5 separate regions of the Homo sapiens genome follow, and regions 2, 3, 4 and 5 are each linked to region 1. Evidence: promoter capture Hi-C in 16 types of primary human blood cells and fetal thymus (Javierre and others, 2016). All regions are on one chromosome and are shown on one strand. Each heading gives the region's core, a stretch centred on a gene start or on the middle of the fragment in contact. The rest is flanking DNA. Distances are from core to core; before and after follow the strand shown. Region 1 holds the start of SHISA2 (shisa family member 2). Region 2 overlaps ATP8A2 (ATPase phospholipid transporting 8A2). Region 3 overlaps ATP8A2 (ATPase phospholipid transporting 8A2). Region 4 overlaps ATP8A2 (ATPase phospholipid transporting 8A2). Region 5 overlaps ATP8A2 (ATPase phospholipid transporting 8A2).

Region 1 (4,297 bases), core at 1,798-4,297:
AAAAACACTGTAGATCTTGCAGCTTTTAGAACTGCCAGCCAAATGAAATATTATTACCTCCATCTGATTTGTATCAACTCCAGTTAGTAAAGTTGTAAGTAATCATTTCTTTAGTTATATGACTTGCTATTTGTACTAGTGAAGATATGTCAGAAGTTTGCTTTTAAATCAATTGGATTTTATTCATATATATATTTATATATATATGCACAGGCACATACTGAAAGGCAAAATAACTTGAAAATATACTTTTTCAGTTAGTGACTATAGAATTCAACTTTTTTAAAAAGAGGGCTGCACTCTTTCATATGTTTTTCAATATATTTTGGCAGACTGCCTAACATTTCATTTTGATTATCATAAATTATGATTACTACTACCTATATGTTGTAATTACTAGTTATAGCTTCTCAGAAGAAACGAGTGAAATAGTTTTGGTTGTCTGTTAAGACCAATGAGGGAATTTCTTTTTATTTCCTATGGAAGGAACAAGCCTATTTTAATATCTCCCAGTGGCACCTCCCATGCAGAACCTCACTAAATACTTGGCAAGTTATTTTATAAAATTTCAGTTCAACATTCCAGATACACAAAGAAACGATAATACAAGAGAGACAAAGTGACATAAAGGACCTTTCAGCATTGAAGACAGTCAACCACTACGTAAAGTAACTATGAAAGGGCCTCTCCTTAACTTTTAAGGAAGAAAAGAAACACAGTAATTAAAAAAAAAAAAAAAGACGAATTTGCTCAGAGCGCCATACTTCTAAGTTCACCAATTATAGATTAAATTGTAGACTATTTGGCAAAAACATTGTGTTTTAAAGGTGGCACTATCCAGTCACCAAATCAATTCCAATATGAAATGTTAAACAATTTTTTTTCTTCATAAATAAACTCTGACAAATTGTGGATGTTTTGGTGAGTAGGATAAGTGGATCCTGGAAGGAGGTTATAGGCATAGGTACTGTCTGAAATAATACAATTCTAAATAGAACAATAAGTACAATTCTCTCGCATTAATTGTTTTTCCAAATGGCAAAATTGAAAGTATTCACCCTCTGAACACTACCCAAATCAACTCGTGCTGCCATAGGAGCATCTCATGATCTGTACAGGACTCCCAGTTAATCAATCCTGGGCTTTCTGTAGTGGCGGCTGTGGTGATCAGCAGTGCGGTGAGTGGGGTTTGGAGTCAGGAAGAATTGGGTGCAGTCCAGGCAAACCGACGCTCTCTATCTTTAGGGATTGAGCAAGTATCCTCACCAGTAAAATGAGGATAGTAATACTGTCTTATTTATAGGGCTGATGTGAGGATTAAATGAAACCATGCACATGAAATTCTTAGCGTGGTGCCTAGCCCATAGTAAGCTCTCAATAAATGTTGGCTAATGGTGTCTTCTAAGAAAATGACTCATTCTGAAAAACTCAATCTTCCCTTGGCTTCTTCTGGTCTCTTTTTAAGTGTTACTCCTTTGATGATTTTTCTGACCTCCTTCCCCACCCTAACCTAGATTATGTGCTTAAATTGATGCTGTTCTCATTGTGGGTAAGAGCTTTGATCATACTTGCATTCTCTTTGCTTATTCAGTTCTTTGTCTTTTTGTCTGATTTCTGTATTTTACCCTGGAGACTTTAGGCCCTATTTGAAGGAAATGGCCATGCTGTCTGGCTTCTTGATGAGTCCCAGTACCCAGCACAGAGCACAGTACACTGTAAGTGCATGGCGTGTATTTCTTGAATGAATGATTTCTTGACATTGAAATTTTTTTTAGCTTACTAGCTTAAGACATTTGGTGAATAGTGCATTTAAAGTATATAATTTTGTGTAGCTTAAAACGATACACAACCAAAAAACTGCAAGAAAACAAAGTGCAATGCTTGGAGAGAGGTTTAGTGAAAAGAATAAGGTGTGTGTTGGGGAGCAGGGACATAGGGTAGGGTTTTTTTTCTTGGATTTGACATTGTTGGGGCAAGTGGAAGAATAATCAACAATGTCTGAATCTTCACATTAACCAGGCATACACAAGCATCCAATGGCTGCTTGAACCTGAGTGTCTTTGCTGTGAATAAAACTGCCTGTGTTCTGAAGTCATGGACTTGAAAGGGACCTTAGTGATCGTCACATCCTATGCTCCACTTTATAGATGAAGAAACTGAGACCAGAAAAACGCAGTGATTCCCTGCTAGTAGGGCTGGGTCTAGAATTCAGGTCTGCTGACTCCCAGACGGTGTGGGAAGGGGCATTCGTTCCTTTAAAAATAAGCACTGCTGCTTTAATAACATCAGCACCTGTTGTTCCAGCTTCTGCAAGAGAGAAGCTATTAATTTCTCCTTCATCAAAGCTGAATTTCTGGTCTGTCTGAACCTTGTTTTCTTCCTGACTGCAGCTGTCTAAACCACTAAGGCCACATGTTGGACGGAGGCACTTTCCTGCTGGAATCCGATAAATCACCACACCCAAATATAGAAAGAAAAAGGGACACAGATCATCCACACCGTGGCCGAATGTGTGACATCTTTGCTGAACTCTCTCCGTTCCACCTTGTGGTGGAGGCCTCCAGTCCACCAAACACAGCCCTAGGCGTGTGAACCCTGCCACAAACATCGGTGCTCTTCCTGCACAGGGCCTGGGACCAACCGTGGCCAGGACATCAGCTGCTGGAAGCCGAGAGAGTTCATCTGAGTGGCGATTTTATGATCTGCAGAGTGGAAAGTAATCATAATCCCTTGAGAAGTTTGCAGAATCGAACCGAATGTTGAATGCCAAAGATCTTCACAAAGCAAGTTGAGTTTCTTCCGTTATTATTGTTATTTGTGTTAGCGAGGCCTGGATTGCTTAGGTTGGGTTTCCTCCCGCGCCTATTCCAGCAGGCAGACCCCGCCCTTGGCCACACCTTTCTCCTTGCCCGGGGTAGGAAAGTGAGGGGCTGCCCGGCGCCCGCGGGCGTCCCTGAGGTCGGGGGTGGGGGGGAGCCGCGCAGCGCGCATGCGCGCCGGGGAGCCGCCGGCCTCTATAAGAGCGCGGCTCAGCGCGGCAGCGAGCGGAGTCGGAGCTGGTCTGGCGCCGGGCGGGGCGAGGCGAGGCTGTGGGCGGCTGCTGCGCTCGGCTTCTCCCGTAGCCCGGAGGAAAGAAACTTCCGTGGGAGGCTTCCATCGGTGCGCACACCTCCCGAGGGCGAGGCAGCGACCGGGAGAGGGAGAGCCGGCCGGAGGCTGCCGGGCTCCTGTGGGACCGCGCTGCAGCCGGGGAGGCGGAGAAGGGGAACCGGGGCGAGCCGCCCGCCTGGATCCGCGCCCAGCAGCAGCCGCGGCCGCCGCCAGCTGGGCAGGCTCCCGGGACTGCGGCTGGGGGCGCGCAGGACCCTCGCCTGCGTCCTGGACGTTCCCGGGGTCAGGAGCGCTCCCTCGGCGACGTGCTGGGAAGATTGGCCGTCGGCCCCGCCGAGTGGAGCGTCGGGGCTGCACCCCCGTGGGCTGCCCGGGCGGCCCGGCCGGAGCCATGCGGACCAAGTTCGGGGCAGAGGAGGCTGAGCGCGGCCGGCTGCGTCACTTGCTGCCCAGAGCCTTGCGTGCACTGCCCGCCTTCGCCCCTTCTACCCGCCCGAGGAGGGAATAAAGGAGGGGAGACGGGCCCTGATTCGCGCGCGGGACCCTGAGGCTTAAACCCTGCGCAGAGCCCTGGCTCCAGGTCCGCGGCGGCGCGCCCAGCGGTCATTCGGCTCGAGTGAGCATCCCTTCGGGGATGCTCAGGGAGGGTCCGGTTGCCAGTGAAACCTCCAGAGGCTTCCGGACGACAGCCCCGGGGGCCTTCTGACTGCATCCCGAGATTTCCATCAGCGAGTGCAACTCATAAGGCAGTCCCTAAGGGGACCGGGCCACCGGCTGAGGACGGGGATGGCTTAGGAGCTCCTGGACCTAGGGCCCGGCGTCGTCGCCTCCTGGGCGTCGCGGCAGAGGGGAGTGGCCCGCGCGGAAAGCGCCGCGGGACAGTCAGTGACGAGGCCCGGGGGTCGCCGGGGCCACGACTTCTCGGAGACCGTCCTGCGCTCTCTGGAGACGCGCTGTCCGCGCCCAGGGTGGTGCCATGTGGGGCGCTCGCCGCTCGTCCGTCTCCTCATCCTGGAACGCCGCTTCGCTCCTGCAGCTGCTGCTGGCTGCGCTGCTGGCGGCGGGGGCGAGGGCCAGCGGCGAGTACTGCCACGGCTGGCTGGACGCGCAGGGCGTCTGGCGCATCGGCTTCCAGTGTCCCGAGCGCTTCGACGGCGGCGACGCCACCATCTGCTGCGGCAGCTGC
Region 2 (4,297 bases), core at 789-3,288, 340 kb after region 1:
GCAATGCTGCCAGCAGGTGGATATGCACATTAAGTGAAGACTCACTGGTGATAGTGGCATGTATAGGCAGCAATGATTAAAGTCACCTTTCTTTCCAGAAAGAGTATTTTCCTAACTCCACTCTAGCCAACCTGCCTCTGAGTCGGTATGTTTGGCCCTTTGAAATTAAAGGAAAAAACTAAATAAGCAATTCATGCTTTATATATTCAGTAGTCCTATAACTTATACACTGCACATCACTGTTTCTTCTCTCACAACTTGTCATCACTGCATTTGCTTCTTTTTCCTCTTTCCTGTTAGGTTTGTATCCCTCATCCTCAGTGCCAGAATGTAAGCTCCATGAGGCCAGGGCTATGTCTGACTTGTTTATGATCATAGTTCCAGTGCCTGGAACAATGTTTTACACGTAATAAGAGCTACATAAATATTTTTCAAATTGATCTCCCCACTTCTATTCTCATCGCTACTCCTTTAAACCCTTCACACCCTGCTGACAGTGATCTTTTAAAAATATACATCTGGCCAAGACCACTCAAAAAGGAAAAGACTGTCTCTTCAACAAATGGTGCTGGAAAAACTGAATATCCATGTGCAAAAGCATGAAACTGGACCTTTATCTTGTAACATATACAAAAACTAACTAAAAGGAGATGAAAGACTACAGGTAAGAGCCAAGCTATAAAACTTGTAAGGGAAAACATAGGAGTAAATCTTCATGATCTCAGATTAGACAATGGCTTCTTAGATATGACCCCATAAGCAACAACAAAAAAAAGTAGATAAACTGGGCTTCATCAAAATTTAAAATTTCTGTGCTACAAACAATACCATCAAGTGAAAAGACAGCCCAATGAATTAGAAAAAATTTTTTGCAAATCATGTATCTGATAAGATACTGACATTAAGACTATATAAAGAATTGCTACAACTCAGTGATAAAAGACAAGCAACCCAATTTAAAAACGGGCAAAGGATTTGAACAGATATTTCCCAAGGAAGATATTCTGGTTATTTGTAGCTAACAAACACATGAAAAGTTGTTCAACATCTTTAATCATCAGGGAAATGCAAATCAAAACCACAGTGAAATACCACTTTATACCCACTAGGATGGCTATGACTTAAAAAAGGAAAGTTTTGGCAAGGATGTGGTGGAACTGGGACCCTCACACATTGCTAGTGGAAATGTATGGGGTGTAATGTATGAAATGTAAAGTGGTGTAGCCACTTAGAAAAACAGTCTGGCAGTTCTGTTTTAGAAGGTTAACCATAGAGTGACCATATACCCCAGCAATTCCACTCCTAGGTATATACCCAAGAGAAATGAAAACATATGTCCACACAAAAATTTGTAGATGAATGTTTATAGAAGTATAATTCATAGTAGCCAAGAAGTAAAAACAACCTAACTATCCGCCAAGTGATGAATAAACTACATGTGATATATCTATACAATGAAATATTTTTTGGCAATAAAAAGAATTGAAATGCTACGACATGAATGACCCTTTGAAGACTTTACAGTAAGTGGGAAAAGCCAGTTGCAAAGCAATGTCCAGAACAGGTAAATCTATAGAGACAGAAAGTAAATAAGTGGTTGCCTTGGGCTGGGGAACTGGAGAGACATTGGGAATGACTAATTGGTACAGGGTTTCTTTTTGGGGATGATGAAATGTTCTAAAATGGAATGTAGTAGTGATAGTTATACTGCTGTATGAGTATACTAATTTGATTGAATTGTATACTTCAAATGTGTGAATTACATGGTATGCTAATATTTCAATAAAGCTGTTATTTTAAAAATACAAATCTGACCACATCATTCCTTTGCTAAAATTTTTCAAAGGTTTCACATTGCACTGAGGAGCAAGTCCAAGTTCCAATGAGACTTGCAGACCTGGGTGATTCGGCCCCAGTTTTCTCCTCCAGCCTCATCTTGCACTACTCCCAACACAACACATACACATAGTAGTTGCTCAATAGACACTAACCTAATGAACTGATTTTACAATAGACTTCAACAGTATTAGCTGTCAATGAAGCCAACTTCACCCTTCATAAGTGGCATGAGAATGGGAAAGCAAATACTAAGGTATATAACTTTCAAATGAAGCATTTATCCAAACTTCTTCATACATATTTTTTTCTATTTCTAGTGTCCAAGCAGAGATCTTAAGAGCACCCTGCACTCAGTACATGCTAACTTGGATACATAAGGCTCCTTGGTTCCTCCAAGAGACTTTTGCATTCTCTTACATGGGTATCTATTTCCTACAAGTAGATAGCCAAGAACATGGAGATAAAAGTAGCTAAGCAGGTGCCCTGCATTGGACAAATAACCAAAGGAGAAAAAAGTTGACCCTGACACCCTAAACATTTTCCATAGTTACAATCACCACTGTTCTCAGCATAACTTCAGCAACTGTCATGAGAAGGGAGTAGGCTGCCTCCAAGAAAGTGAAGGTTTGGTTAGCCTATCACATCATTCATTCATTCACCAATATTTATTGAGTGTTCATTACGTGTCTCGTGTCATTTCCAGTGCTGAGGATGGAAGAGAAGGCTAAGGAGACACAATCTCTGCTCTAATGAAACAAACATTCTGTTGGGTGGAGACAGATTATCAATAATTAGGCAAAAGTATAATAGTATGTCAGGTAGTGGTAAATGCTATCAAGCAAAATAAAGCTATGGAAAGTGGCACTAACAGAGCCAGAGTACTCAAGGTACCCTGCCTTGAGCTGAGAGGGTGACATTTGAGCAAAGACCTGAATCAGGTGAGTTTGCCATGTGTCAGTGGGGCAAAATCCTGTTATAGTCCTGGGGCAAAGCCTGCTTTGAGAGCCAAAGGAACAGAAAGGAGTCCAATGTGGCCGGGACACAGAAAGCAAGGGAGAAGCAGCATCCCACTAGGTTTTTAAATTTAATTCTGAGAGGTCACCAGAAGGTTTTCTTCCTTTCTTCCTTCCCTCCCTCCTTCCTTCCTTCCTTCCTTCCTTTCTTTCTTTTAGCAGAGGGATACAGCTTCTTTTTGAACACCAAACTCTGGGTTAATCAAAGCTGATAGTTAAGGATAGCCACAGAAATCTATATCAGCCTACAGCATTAGAGAAGCTAATAAATTTAAGAATTCAACGTACCTAAGATCAAAGGCATCTAATTGCTGAAATACAAGAGACCAAGCATCTAATTCATAACTGTACAGTCTACGTAATTTTTACTGGCCAGCTCTTCTCCCAGGCCCTGAGTCTCACAGAGGCAGGGGTTGTGCTGGGCTGTGCTGATCTTGTCCACCACGGTAGCTGCTAGCTACCCTGGGGAGCTGCTAGCTCCCCAGGACCCAGAACATGGCACGTTGTTTGTCAGGAAACATATTTGCGACACATATGCTCAATATTCATTCAGCACACACACAGATGGATTTCAAAGTCATCTCAAGAACACGAAGTGACCTGCATTTGAAATAATCCTTAGGAGACTTGTGAATTGACTAGAATCGCCTCAGAAAAAAGTACTAAGTTATAAACAACAAAAACTTATGAATCACTAACTACTAGATTCAAGAAAGACTTTTCTAGACTCCTGACTGAGAATCTCGGTACAAGGCAATGAGAGCTTTCTGGTTTTTTCCTGCAGAACGTCTACATGAAAGCTGTAGCACCAAAAATAATGCTGATTGGCTGCAGGGTTTTGAAAAGTGGGCTAATATAAATTTGTTCTAAATCAATATCCTTTCATGCACACATAAAAGCAAGTTTGAAGAGCATAATGCATATAAACTGGTGAAAAATTCTAAATCAATAAAACTTGCCTCTTAGCCCTATCAGAAAAAAACAGACGTAGTGGGAACGATGACATTTGTTACACAGAGTTGTAAAAAATGCCTTTCAAGTTAGAAATAGAAGATGCGATTTCTGCTTTCTAAAACTTACAGCAAGACTGAAATATGGAGTGGGCTAACAAAGTTGAGAATTTAGTAAAAGAGAAGCGTACATCATTTTGGGAAAGGGGAGAATTCTATACAATGAGCACTATCTACATTTTTAGGGATTAAATTGCTAAACTTAAACTGAGACAAGATAAATCAAGTTAATCTCAGGATAGTTTTAATGGAAGACATGGTATAGTAAACTAAATATAACAGGGTTTTAGTTCCATGAGGATAATTCTTACTTTTGCTTTTATCAAATGAAATAACTTATCTTTGCTGGAATCACATAGTTTTAAACATGAAGAATACCCAGGTATATTTTGCAAGGAAATATTCTTAAGGCTACTATCTCTTACTCAAGCAATT
Region 3 (4,297 bases), core at 1,078-3,577, 320 kb after region 1:
GAGGGCCGACAAAGCATGAAGAGCAGAATAAATTATAAATGACTAAAATTAAAAGGCAAAGGTTCCTGGTGGAAAGAATACAACTTTAGAGTGCTAATGACAGAGGTTCCCAGTATCTTTTTGTCATTTATGGCCTATTGGACCTTGCAAAAAATGTACACAGAGCACACCATGAAAAATGAAGCACGCATGCACACACAGGTATGGGCATGCCTGTGTATGTATATGCGAACACAAAGTGCCTAAGAGGAAATAACAGTAGTCCCCTTAGGAGAGTGATACCATTAGCGGTTTCTATTTCCTTCACTGTTTTCCAATCCTACAATAAGCGTCTCTTATTCTTACAGTGGGCAGTCAGGGGTGGAAATACCCCTCTTTGCTCAAAAAAATCTGGCTAGGTTTTTTTGACAATATAATTCTTCATGCCATTCTTTATTATGCTATGAAATAACTTCTCTGTTAATCAGAACACCTGCTGTCAGCCAGATTATTTCCTTATTAGTCATTGAAGACTTCCATGACTTCACGACACACAGTTCCCATCTTCTGTAGTATTTCATCATAAAGGCATGTAAAATTGCTATTTAATAGCTTCTTATTCTTAGATACTACCCATTCAGTTTTCTTACTTGTGGGAAAATTACACCACTGAGATATAAGAAAAACTGCAGCCAACTATAATAATTCTACATTTTGGGTGGAAACAAAGGAAGGGTGGGAGTTTTGTACTATATTTTCAATAAATTTCAATAACTTCCAAATGTTTATGCTTTCCAGGTTTATTCACACCTGTGGGACAAAAAAAAAGCAATAATACAGGGTACAACTTTTTTTCAGCAATAGGCTAGTTCTTTTACTGGGATAAATTATATATATTTTTCCTAATTGTTATCCCTTTGAGATCTGGCTGACTGACTCATAAAACACAGAATCCATTCTGTTATCACTTAGCGTGTTAGACCAGCTCAGCTCACAGACAAGCTGAAGTACATCACACAGGACTCAACGGAACTGAAGCACTTCTGGTGAAATACAATCCCACAGAAAAATTACAAAGTCCTTCTTTAAATGATTCACTTCATCAGTTAATATTCTTGGCCATGAATTACATATTAAGAATAAATTCAGGAGATGTTTCATTTATTTATCTGAGGTATTATAATTTAAATAATACATAGAATTTCAGAACAACAACAAATCATAGCTTGGAGCTCACATGGCCACTACCTCGAATATCACCAGCAGGAAACAGAGGACTGCAGTGTGAATGGTTTGCTCCAGGGATTGTAGCTGGTCAGTGACCTCATTGCTACGTGGCCACAAGCCCCATATTCCGAATTCTGGTACAGATTCTTTCCCAACATGCGAGGCTGCTCATCTAGCAAGGATATTGGAGATAACAGCCCAGAAAGCATCATACGTGCCTCCAACTTCCAAACACTGCTTTTTAGGAAAAAGCTGCCTCCTTTTCCTAAACACAGTAGTAAAGCAGGGAAAAGCTCAGCTCTCTGGGCTAGGGAGGGAAAAGCTTGATTTTTCACTAACACAGGGAAGACAGAGCAGTGGGTGGGAGGTGAACAGCACAGAGAATGTGGAGAGGCTGTGAGGGAAAACTCACAATTCAGGGACCCCGGAGTCCTGAAAAAGAGGACACACTGCCCACCTATGGAAGCAGTCTAATTTCCCAGTTTCCATTTATCATCTTCAAATCAACCACTTCCATTTTCAGAGCTTAAGCTTTCGAAGACCTTCAATATGAATGAAATAAATGTGGATGTTAGCAAGACTCTTGCTTAAAAAGAACAAGTTCTGTGCCCTGTTACAATGGATTTTCCTAGTTCTAAGTGACCCATTTGTATTCGTCACCTCATGTGCTTCATTTCTGCGAGTGTTAGTTGGATTCTGCCAGAAATCCCTCTGCTTATTTTTTTAACCAAGAGGGTGTTATATTCCACATTCTGTGAATTTGATTACATCAACAGGCACATTCCACTTACCAATGGGGTGAGGCCTAAATATCGTATATCAGCACTCTAGGATTTAGTACCCTTACCCAGAAAAATGAAAATTTAAGGCTGGACAACATTTACCCCAAATAAAAAGCATTCTTTGGCCAAAAGTGTTTGGGAAGAGAATTGAAAAAATAGCAGGCACGAGAGTTCAATTGGTCAATATTTTAATTGTTATGGCTTTAATCCTTATCTTTATTCCCACCTCTCTCTTTCTTTCTCTTTCTTCCTTTTTCTTCCTCCCTCTTCCTTCCTTCCTCTCTCTCTTTCCTTCTTTCTTCTTTCCCTTTCTCTCTTTCTCTCTCCTTCCGGTCTTTTCTTTCTTTCTCTCTCTCTTTCTTTCTTTTTCTTCCTCCCGCTTCCTTCCTTCCTTCCTTCCTCTCTCTCTCTTTCCTTCTTTCTTCTTTCTCTTTCTCTCTTTCTCTCTCCTTCCGGTCTTTTCTTTCTTTCCTTCCTTCTTTCTCTTTCTTTCTTTTATTTCTCTCTCTCTCTCTCTTTTCTTTTCCCTTTCCCTCTCTCTCTCTTTCTTTCTCCTTTCTTTTCTTTTCCTCCCCTCTCCTTCTTTTTTGCGACCTGGCTGGAGTGTAGTGGGAGGAACATGGCTCACTACAGCTTCAACAACCCAGGTTCAAGTGATCCTCCTGTCTCAGTCTCTCGTGCGGCTGGGACCACAGGTATGTGCCGCCAACCTGGCTAATTTTTTGAGTTTTTGTAGAGACAGGTCTCACTTTGTTTCCCAGGCTGGTCTCCAACTCCTGGTCTCAAGTAATTCTCCTGTCTTGGCCTCCCAAAGTGCTAGGATTACAGGTGTGAGCCACTCATGCCTGGCCTATTCCTTCCTTAAAAAAAATCAAACAATAATAAAAATCTAAGAACTCCTCAAATCCCAGCTTACATAGTAAGCTTTTCCAGAATAAGCAAACTGGGCATGGATTCTACATTTGGCCTTCTTTATGGCAATCACATTTGGTCTATTATACATGAAAAATTATAAAGTAAGAATATAGAATAAAATAAAGAAGCTCAACCACAAAGAGAAATCAGCAATGGATACTACTTGTGAGTGTGACAGATATCATGCCACTTGAAGCTATAAACTCTAAGCAGAGTTGAAGCTACCCTATGAGCTCTAGTTCACATATTTATTACATTTTAGACACCAGAGGTAAAAGCAGGACCAGTGTAATAGAAAGTAGTCCCCACACATAGCTGAAACTGCCAAGCCATGATTCCCTTTTGTTCTTCAAAACAAAAGCCAACTTGATAGAGTTGAAGACATACCTGTCTTAAAGAGACTTTTGCTTTCTAATAATTTTGTTGTTGTTGTTGTTGAGACAGGGTCTCACTCTGTCACTCAGGCGGGAGTGCAGTGGCATGATCACGGCTCACTTGCAGCCTCAACCACCTGAGTTCAGGCAATCCTCCCAACTGAGCCTCCAGAGTAGCTGGAACCACAGGCACACGGCACCATGCCTGGTTAATTTTTTGTATTTTTTGTAGAGATGGGGTTACACCATATTGTTCACGCTGGTCTCAAACTCCTGGGTTCAAGCAATCTGCCCACCTCGGCCTCCAAAGTCCTGGGATTACAGGCATGCACAACTGCGCCAGGCTGCTTTCTAATAAATTAAGTTAGATGTGAACAAAAACAAGCTGGGGAGGTGCAGTATACTACATTCCCTTCTGGCAGAATGCACATTATCAGATTAAAGACTCAGAGGGAAAGCAATCACATTTAACAATTATACAAATTTATTTGCACAGAGAGCTATTTTTTTCCCCCACGTTACACTTAGCATCCCGAACAATGTTTCTTTAACTACAGTTTAGGAAGTGCTAGAGTGATGAGTACCTAGGTCTCCTGCAAATCTGCTACCTGATCAACATTTCAGCTTTTTTTTTTCAGTTTAACAAAGTCATCTTAAAAAGGAGTGTAAACACAAGTCAAACAAAACAAGCCAACAGGTGTAGGGCAGGACCGACTTCATGCACACCTTGCCAGGGGAATAACAACACCAAACCAGGAAAAAGACACACGTGTCGCGACACAGTCCATATAAATGACATCGTGGTTGGACTCAGACCCAAATCCAGATCTTAAACCCTCCAAGTGTGACCCAGTGGACATTCAACTTCTTTAAAGCGCAGTTAAATGGGAATATCATGACCTGTCCTAAAAGGTATGAATCAGGGTTAAATGAGACAACATACGAAAATATGTGCCACAGTACCTGGCCTGGCCATGCCTCAGGCATTCCATACCTTTAGTCACTTTCCATCCTTCCCTA
Region 4 (4,297 bases), core at 480-2,979, 300 kb after region 1:
ACGGTGCTCCCAAAGCTGGGCTGAAACCACCGGCCTTCGGAATGGGAGCCGGGCAGAGCAACATGGAAGCAGGTGGGAGTCAGAATCGGGGGGATAGCTGTGGGGAGGGAGGCTGCTTCAGTGTGGGGGTGGGCACAGTGTATGGCCCAAAACTAGAGACAGATGAGAGTAACCAAGGAAGAGGGGGCACTAGCAGAGGGAAACTGCCCACAGTTAGGGCCCGTGTTCCTGGCTTTGGTAACTACACACAGATGTGTACTATTTTATTTGGTCTCCTGAAAACTCTAGCGACTACTCTGAGAAATGCAGCCTGCTCTGCCTGGGTCAGGAGCTGCTTTCTGGACACCGGCCTGTCTTCCACACGAACTGGACCAGTGACCCTTCAGGGAGGACTTCACCGAAGTTCTCCTTACTGTGGCTTTAGAGGGACACAAATAAGTAAATAAATATTGAGACAATCAGATGATTTCTAAAGATGAACTTGGTTGTTTCGTATACAAACAGGAGCTCACATACATGCAAATAATTCTTCTTCTTCGTTTTTTTGTTTTGTTTTGTTTTATTTTTTAGAGATGTGGTCTTGCTATGTTGCCCAGGCTGGACTCAAACTCCTGGGCTGAAGCAATCCCCCATCTCAGCCTCCTTAGTAGCCAGGACTAGTGGTACGTGCCACCATGCCTGGCCAAATAATTATTTTAAAAACAAACTTAGATGTCAACAATTAGAAACTAAAGAGACAATGTGACAGTTATCATCAGGCATTCATTCTACTCTATAGTGACCAGAATGTCCCATTTTAACTTCCTTTCCAGTTTTAAAGAAAATCGGAAGGAACATGAGTTGGCTGCTGCCTGTCTACACCGCAGCCTTGGTCTGCTCCTAAGGCAAAGCTGTCCCACTCTTTCTTAAATTCCTCCCATCTCCCTTGCCCCAGGAACAGCCTAAGCTCTGTAGCTGCTCACTCAAGGGGCTTTCTGACTGCCCCCACCGAGCACAGCCTCCTGCTCTGACATCGATGTGACAATGCCTGCGTCATGATTCCCTGCTGCCTACACCCCCTCCTCACCCACATTCCCACTGCTCTGCTTTTCTCCAGACAAAACCTGCACCGCAAACTCCCTCGCATCTGGACTCCCCTCGGCTAACTTCAGCTCTATCCTGAAGACCACCTCCAGTGTCGTCTCCTTCCTGGCGGGGTCCTCTGATGCTTCTCCCATCTCCGTCAGGCCCTCCTTCCCCTCTGCCAGCTTCACTTCCCCCTCCTCCACTCTCTTCCCATCAGAATACTCAGCCCATGCCCAGAAATCACCATTTCCAGGCCTGTCTTCCTGGAAGGACTGATTCCTGCAAGGCAAAGGTCTGTTCTCTTCAGCGTCTGCAGTGCCTCCCAAATGCCTGGCCCACCTGCTGCCAAGAGTTAGAAAGTGTCAACTTTTATTTCACGGAAGACAGAAAAACAACCTAAGGATCCACAATTTCATGTTAGTCAAAACTATTCTGCTATCTGCTATCTCAATTGGCATTATAATTTCACTGTCCTCTCACTACAAGCCATGGTGAAGATACACATTTCACCTTTCAAACTTCATAGAAATGTCCACTGATTTTAATCTCCACATACTGTTATTGAAATGCCTATGTGTATATACATGGTGGTGATGGGGGGCACTCTTTACAAATACTAAAAACACTAAAATAAAAAGGAGAAAAAACATTTTGAAAATGCTATAACCCAAACCAGAATAACTGCTAATACAAACAGGCCCCTTCCCAAATGTAAGCGGGTCACAAGTAATGGCTCACCTCAAAGTGGCCGCAGCAACGCTGTTTACTCTCCATTTGGGGCTTAAAAGCATTTTAGTTGATGAACAGGCCCTGAAGCAGAAACATCTAAACCCATGCTAATGCCCAGCAGAGCAGTAACTTCTTTTGATTAATTTACCAGCACTGAAAGCACAAGAAAGAGATCAAACCGCGTTCTGCACTAAACAATTAAACAAGCAGCCATGCCTCCAGTATGGTGTGCATCAGGATGAAAGCTGGATGGGGTCGAATGAAAAAGCAACAAATATCTTACATTGATTAATGCTTATAAAATTTTTTCCCCTTAAATGTCATAACATGTCATTCAATGCTCGAACCAAAGAGCTTATGTAACATTTAAAACAAAAAAAGAGTTCCAAAAGCCTAAGAAAATTCAGATGTGTCCTGAGGAGAAAAATCAGGTCATTCCAAACACTTCTAAAGAACATTCAAAATACTTTGGCAGAACTCTGACCAATTTGCTGAAATATCTTCAACATGAAACAGCATGGGGGGAAAATCCTATCATCTCCTTTCATCGAAAAATAATTTTTCTGCTATGAGTGAAATTGTTCTTAATTTAAACTAGCCCATTCACAATGTCCAATACTATCTATATACACTGTTTTGGAAACCCAGAGCTTAAACAAATATGATGATACAAATATATCTCTACTTAGTAATTTTTTTCTCAAATTGGAATTTAAACCATATGGTGATTCCTAAATCAGAATGAACTACAAATGTCAGTAGTTAACCCTTATAGATTTTCTGAATGATTGGCTGAATGAATTTTTAAAACCCAATAAATGTCTTTGTAATAAAACAAAACTTATATACTTGTAGAAAAATATCTGAACAAAGCCAGCTAAAAACGTCAGCTTAGGAAAGTCAAACTTGGTGCATTTTACATCCCTGAAGAACATTTCTTGGTGATTCAATGTTATTTTAGTCAATGTGTTGGCATGTCTTTGGGCTACTCACTGCAACTCTGTCCTAATCTGTAAAATGGAGCTGATCCATACTTCGGGGGATTTTAAAGGTTAAATGAAATTGTTATCTATAAAGCACACATCCTGACATCCTGAAATTCTTCCCTAAACAAACCCCTCCCCACGCATTGTATCCCCAGGCGATGCTAAACCCCTTGCAGAGCTTTTGGTCTACTTAAGCACACCTCCACGTGTCTAACCCCTCCTCCATGACTGAGCTTACCTCCTCCACTCCAGCACGTACTGTTCTGTAAGAGTTATCAGGTATGTGGAAGACATGAAACAAACATGAATAAAAGGACCCACAGGATACCTTTTGCTACATCTGCCAAACAGTTCGAATTGAAGCCCTTTATATTTTCAAACTCTTATGTGGAAAGACCACAAAAATTTGGAAATGCGACACTGAAAACTGACTTCGCTACTAACCTTCCCACAATACTGTCCTCCTTATGAAGATGAGAGCCCAAGGAGCACGGCAGATGAGGCCTGTTTGCCTGCTCAAGCGCTATGGCTCTAACAGGCACGAATCCTCTATTATTGCTACTGAATAAATAAATGAATTGTAGCTAAGGTAGACCTAAGTTTCTACTGATCCCTCCTTCCAGTTTTCTTATATGTATACAGGAAAACAAAAATTTGCTATTTTAGATCTTTCCAAAGACAGTGACACCCTCCCTTAGAAAATAATTTAAAAACCCTTGGATGAGGTCAGGAAACACAAGGAAAAGGAGCTCTCACTTTGCAGAGGAAGCAGAGGCTCGCAGGACAGAACGACCATAGGCTCTGTGTTTCCCCACAATGGAGGGAAACATATCCTATCTAAGAAGCTTTGATCATGGGGATATTTTGAAAGCACGGGCCAAAAAGATGGAGATAATCTAGCACAATGTTTAACATAAAATTAAGAATGACCTATGAATTATTCCACACTGATTTTGACTCTGGTTATAAAAATTGGCTTTCACTCTGACCTGTTTATATGGTTCAGTCTTCAATGCACTTTTCTCTAAACACTTCAGCTGGAATCAACAGATTTTTAGCTCTTGAGACGAGGCATTGTTATTGCTGCTGGGGCATGAATAACGTCCGTCCAGGGAAGAGAAGGTGCTGGTCCAGTTTCCTTTCAGTGTGGGATCACCAGCTTTCCCACAAATGAGCAGGAAACATAATAGACTCAACCTGGGTTAATTGTTTTCTAACTCTAAGGCACTTTCACAAACATTTGAACCTACTATACAGAGTAACCTCAAATATTTACCTACAAAAACACCATTACATACATAGAAAGGACCATAGAAGTCCTTCCAGGTTCAAATTCAAATTCTTTAATCAGCTTCATTCTGCAGAACTTTATTTGCCTACGTGCTAGACTCACTGTTCTCATTTCCCAAGTTAAATATCCAATGAGATGCACAGCCCTTGCCATCCATCTGTCCTGCTTTAAGTTCATGTCAGTGTGCAAATTCCTACAGACATCCTGAGAGCCATGAACAAGACTT
Region 5 (4,297 bases), core at 1,199-3,698, 260 kb after region 1:
TGTCCTGTGAACTCCATATTCTAGTTCCATCTCACAGATAAATGTAAAAAAATGCTGTCACCACCTACCAAGTTTTGATGGTTCTTCTCTCTAAGGACTAATTAAGTAATGAAGTTCAATAAAGGACCAGAAAAAAATTCTAGAGTATTCTTAATTAATTTTTCTCTATCTTGGGCAAGGGAGATTTGAGATAAATTTCTTTACTACTTATCAATAGCGCTATTCTAGTAGATGTTAGGATGCTTTCAGCAAATTCCAAATTTTCTTTTTATTTTGTAAGATACTTGTTAATAATTGCTAATTAGGTTGACTATAACCCAAAGAGGGGGAAAAAAGTCCTGTAAGCTTGACACATGAAATAGCAACTCTTCTCCTTATTACTATATTTCTGAGAAAAGCTCACTTAAATTTCATTCATTCCCACTAAAAATATACATCTAAAACAATCTATGTCAATGTGCTGACAATCTGTCATCCTAAAGAAATTTCTTCAGCTGTCATTGAGTGCCATGGAAAAGAAATCGACCAAATATGCTAAACATGGGCACAGAAGGTCTTTGCACTTGTGAATTATGATTTATTATTTACTATAATATTCATATTTAAAAGTTAATGTAATGTATAGAAACATAAGCATTTTAAATATCTTCTTAAAACTCAAAAATAGTGAGGGATATGAAGCTCTGACAGCCGAGTGAAAATCCCTCCCTGCCCCAGCACATTTGAACCATCTAACCTCTCAGGAATGAGAAAATTGAATGCAAGAAAATTCCCTGCTACTATTCACATATGCATATATAAAGTACAACTTTTCCAGTCTTAAAGGAGACTAAGCTTTAGTTTTTTTCCAACTGTTCCCTGGTTTATAATGCATAGAATTAATATCTTGATCACAGTCCTGTTTCTTGAATCAAAACTCAGTCATGGATGGCTGGATCACTCTCGGGAGGCTGAGCTACCGAGATTACAAACAAGAGGCTGACACTTGTGCATGAGCTGGACATCCTATAAATCCCATAAAAATGATTACAAGAAAATATGAGATGGTGGGGGCAGGCAGAGAGAGAGAGAAGGTGTGTGTGTGTGTGTGTGTGTGTGTGTGTGTGTGTGTGTAGGAGAGGGAATGCGTTGGGGCAGAATTTCAATATCAATAAAAGACCTTTCTGATAGATGTTATCCTTGGCCTGATTCAAATACCAAGAAGCAATTACTGGAATATATATATCTGTTTCTTATTTATTTTTAGATATAGTTTGCATACAATAATTATTCATCCTTTTTAATGTACAGTTGTGAGTTTTGATAACTGCGCACCCTTGTGTAACCACCATAATCAAGACACCGAGTATTTCTGTCACTCTCCCAAACCCTTTGTGCTCCTTTGTAGTCACCCTTTTCCTCCACCCAAAGACCCTGGAAACCACAGATCTAATTTTGGTCCCCACAGTTTTTGTCTTTTTCAGAATGTCAAATAAGTGGAATCATGCATTTATACAAAATCATACGAAAGGGTGTCATTTTTGAGTCTGGGTTCTTTCATGTAGCACAATGCATTTGCACAGCAAAGCACTGTATTCTGTGTATTGCTCCTTTTTGTTGCTAAGTAATATTCCACTGCATAGGTATACTGCACAGTTATCCACTTCTCAGTCAAGGGACATATAGGTTGTTTCTAGTATTTGGTAAGTAGAAATAAAGCCACCGTAAGGTTTTACCAAGGCAGCTGCACCATTCTGAATTCCCACCTCTTCTTTCTTCAAGATGGAAAACATGCTGCTCATGGCCATCAGGCCAGCTCTAAACTCACAAACTCCTTGAGAGCCTCTGTCCTCCCTCTGTCTTCTCCCCATCTCAAAAACAAACCAACCAAGTACGAAAAATATACAGAAGTTTGAAAGAGGTAGGGATGATGTATTGATGACGATTACCTCCTTCTCCCCCATGTCTGTGCTCTTCAAAATGGCTTAAACCATTCTCCAGGGCCTTCTGGTCATGTGCAACTGGATGAACAGGGCACACGTCTTCAAATGACAATCTCAGCTAAAGAACTGGGGTGGGGAATTGTTTTTAAAAGTAAAAAGATTCAAAATGTGGTCACCTGAGTACACTCATGACATCAGAAAAATCCTGAATTTCAACATAAGCTCATACCAGTGGCCTTCACCGTGACATATTAGATAGCAAAGGATTTCTCTGCTATCTCGTTAATGGCTAACACAAAATGTCTTTGCTATTACCAACAACAGTTTTTTCCAGTAAAGATAAAAAAAAACACTAAGTCTCCCCTGAGAAAGCCTGATAGTACATGTAGTATTTGTATGTATGTACTTGTGTACATACAATTATACACATATATGTGCACACATATGTACTTCTACATACATGTGTGTATAATACACATACACACATTTGCACAATATAAAGATAAAATATAGACAACCCATGGCATTAAACATAGCGTATAGGAGAATTTTGCCTAATCTAGATAAATAAAATTTTCATCTCTATGCTTGTTACCATGTCATGTAGAAATGGCTGGGCAGGTTTTCATAAAATATTTGGGGTGACCCGACTTAATATAAAGTCTATGTAGTACTCTTGTAATTTACTCTGAAAACCTCTAGGCAATAACTCAGAGAATCAGGCATTCTCCAGAGCAATTAAAACAGGTATGTGAAAAAGTCTTTGTACTGATGGTCACTTGATCACTTTATGCAGGCAACGAAGACAGTTTCAAATATTAACTCAAAATTGAAAGTCACAAGGCAGATGTTGGAATTGCAAGCACTGCTGTGAAAATCCCTTTGTTTCTCTGAACTTTTTACAGTCAGTGTGGGAAAAGGTACCACTCCTATGAAACAATTCCAAAGTTTTGCTCTTCTCTTCTCTTCTCTTCTCCTCTCTTCTCCTCTCTTCTCTCCTGCCCTCCCCTCTCTCCCCTATCCCTCCTCTCCTCTCCTCCCCTCTCCTTCCTTCCTTCTTTCCTTCCTTTCTTCTTTCTCTCTCTCTCTTTTTCTTTTCTTTTTTTTGAGACAGGGTCTCATTGTTGTGCTGTGATCATAGCTCACTGCAGCCTCGACCTCATGAGCTTAATCAGTCTTCCTGCCTCAGCCTCCCAAGGAGCTAGCTAGGACTACAGGCCCATACCACCACCCCCGGCTATTTTTTTTCTTTCTTTTAGTTTTTGTAGAGATGAGGTCTCACTTTGTTGCCAACACTGCTCTTGAACGCCTAGGCTGAAGCAATCCTCCTGCCTCAGCCTCCCAAAGAGCTGGGATTACAGGTGTGAGCCACTGTGTCTGGGCCCAAAGTATTTCCTAACCCTTCTAACTAGATCATAAATTCCCTCAAGGACCATAATTACATTTTTTGTTCATTTCATTAGTTTCAAAGCAATCAGGAAAGTGGTAGTCGGTAAATAATACATACTTAGTGAGTCTCTATTAATTATCTAACCACTAACTGGCCAAGGCACTTGACCTAGGCCTTGAAGAGCACAGCAGCCCACACAGAAGCACACAGATAGGCTTGATGAGACATATTAAAGACAACTAACCACCTGCAGAAAGTGTTTTCTGTTTGTGGCTAAACACTGTTCGGTCAGTTACATATGGATGACAAAACCTGCTGCTGAGAGGAAATAAGCAGGATTATTTTATTGTTTGCATCTGGGCTGCCAAAAAATGAAAGCCTTTATACTTGAATTGCACACTAAATGTATACAGATCATAACCAGAGTCTGATATCGGTACATTGTTTACATGAAGTTTTTGATTAGCAACTTTTGCAGCTCAAGGGAGATGGTTAACTTATTTTATTTCCTTTTCTGGTTCTTAAAATGGAGTTATTAGCCATACTCACGGACACAAATAGAATTCTACACACTGCTCTAAAAAGTTTTTAATTTAAGCAATTTAGGTTCTGGTACATCAAAATCAACACTAAAATGATTTTTGCTTTATTTCTGCAAATAGAAGGTGGCTAGGTTAGCTTTTAGGGTAGGTTTCTCTTGCAAGTCTCCCACAAAAAAAGGTGAGCATATACGAAATTTATCTAAGCTTTATAGATTGAAAATATACTCAGCAGCAAGAAGGAAACAAGGGTCTAGTAAAATGTATTTTCCATCTTCGGATCAACAAATATTAACACTAATGGGCTGGAACATGTCATTGTTGCTTGTTCTTATGGTAAAGAGCTCCACAGAAGGCAAATTTTAAGAGTGTCCTGAAGGGAGGATGATGAATAGGCTTTGAAAGAAACCAGTAAAATCATGTTCTGGGAGGAGAGAAACCACTTT

Evidence for each region. The method cuts DNA at HindIII sites, captures the fragments that hold promoters and counts their contacts. A CHiCAGO score of 5 or more calls a contact.
Region 2: a fragment that was not itself captured here is called in contact with the fragment with the promoter of SHISA2 in region 1 in 5 of 17 cell types (activated CD4 T cells, naive CD4 T cells, non-activated CD4 T cells and 2 more); the score reaches 9.2 in activated CD4 T cells.
Region 3: a fragment that was not itself captured here is called in contact with the fragment with the promoter of SHISA2 in region 1 in 7 of 17 cell types (activated CD4 T cells, fetal thymus, naive CD4 T cells and 4 more); the score reaches 11.3 in activated CD4 T cells.
Region 4: a fragment that was not itself captured here is called in contact with the fragment with the promoter of SHISA2 in region 1 in 4 of 17 cell types (activated CD4 T cells, non-activated CD4 T cells, fetal thymus and 1 more); the score reaches 6.6 in activated CD4 T cells.
Region 5: a contact is called between a fragment that was not itself captured here and the fragment with the promoter of SHISA2 in region 1, in 6 of 17 cell types (activated CD4 T cells, naive CD4 T cells, total CD4 T cells and 3 more). The highest score is 7.2, in activated CD4 T cells.

The regions. Positions count from the first base shown.
Region 1 is chr13:26,050,766-26,055,062 of GRCh38, reverse strand. It overlaps SHISA2 (shisa family member 2), which reads left to right and starts at 3,047. Exons shown (of 2, transcript NM_001007538.2): 1 at 3,047-4,297. The coding sequence starts at 4,088. It overlaps LINC00415 (long intergenic non-protein coding RNA 415), which reads left to right. Exons shown (of 2, transcript NR_146971.1): 2 at 2,391-2,787. The HindIII fragment of the contact is 15,847 bases long and covers 1-4,297 here.
Region 2 is chr13:25,712,826-25,717,122 of GRCh38, reverse strand. All of the region lies in intron 25 of ATP8A2 (ATPase phospholipid transporting 8A2), which reads right to left. Among named protein-coding and RNA genes, the nearest start is that of SHISA2, 340 kb to the left of the region's middle. The HindIII fragment of the contact is 4,796 bases long and covers 1-4,297 here.
Region 3 is chr13:25,729,335-25,733,631 of GRCh38, reverse strand. All of the region lies in intron 25 of ATP8A2 (ATPase phospholipid transporting 8A2), which reads right to left. Among named protein-coding and RNA genes, the nearest start is that of SHISA2, 320 kb to the left of the region's middle. The HindIII fragment of the contact is 1,175 bases long and covers 1,740-2,914 here.
Region 4 is chr13:25,746,267-25,750,563 of GRCh38, reverse strand. The region is part of intron 25 of ATP8A2 (ATPase phospholipid transporting 8A2); the gene reads right to left. Among named protein-coding and RNA genes, the nearest start is that of SHISA2, 300 kb to the left of the region's middle. The HindIII fragment of the contact is 3,796 bases long and covers 1-3,627 here.
Region 5 is chr13:25,791,637-25,795,933 of GRCh38, reverse strand. All of the region lies in intron 27 of ATP8A2 (ATPase phospholipid transporting 8A2), which reads right to left. Among named protein-coding and RNA genes, the nearest start is that of SHISA2, 260 kb to the left of the region's middle. The HindIII fragment of the contact is 3,224 bases long and covers 837-4,060 here.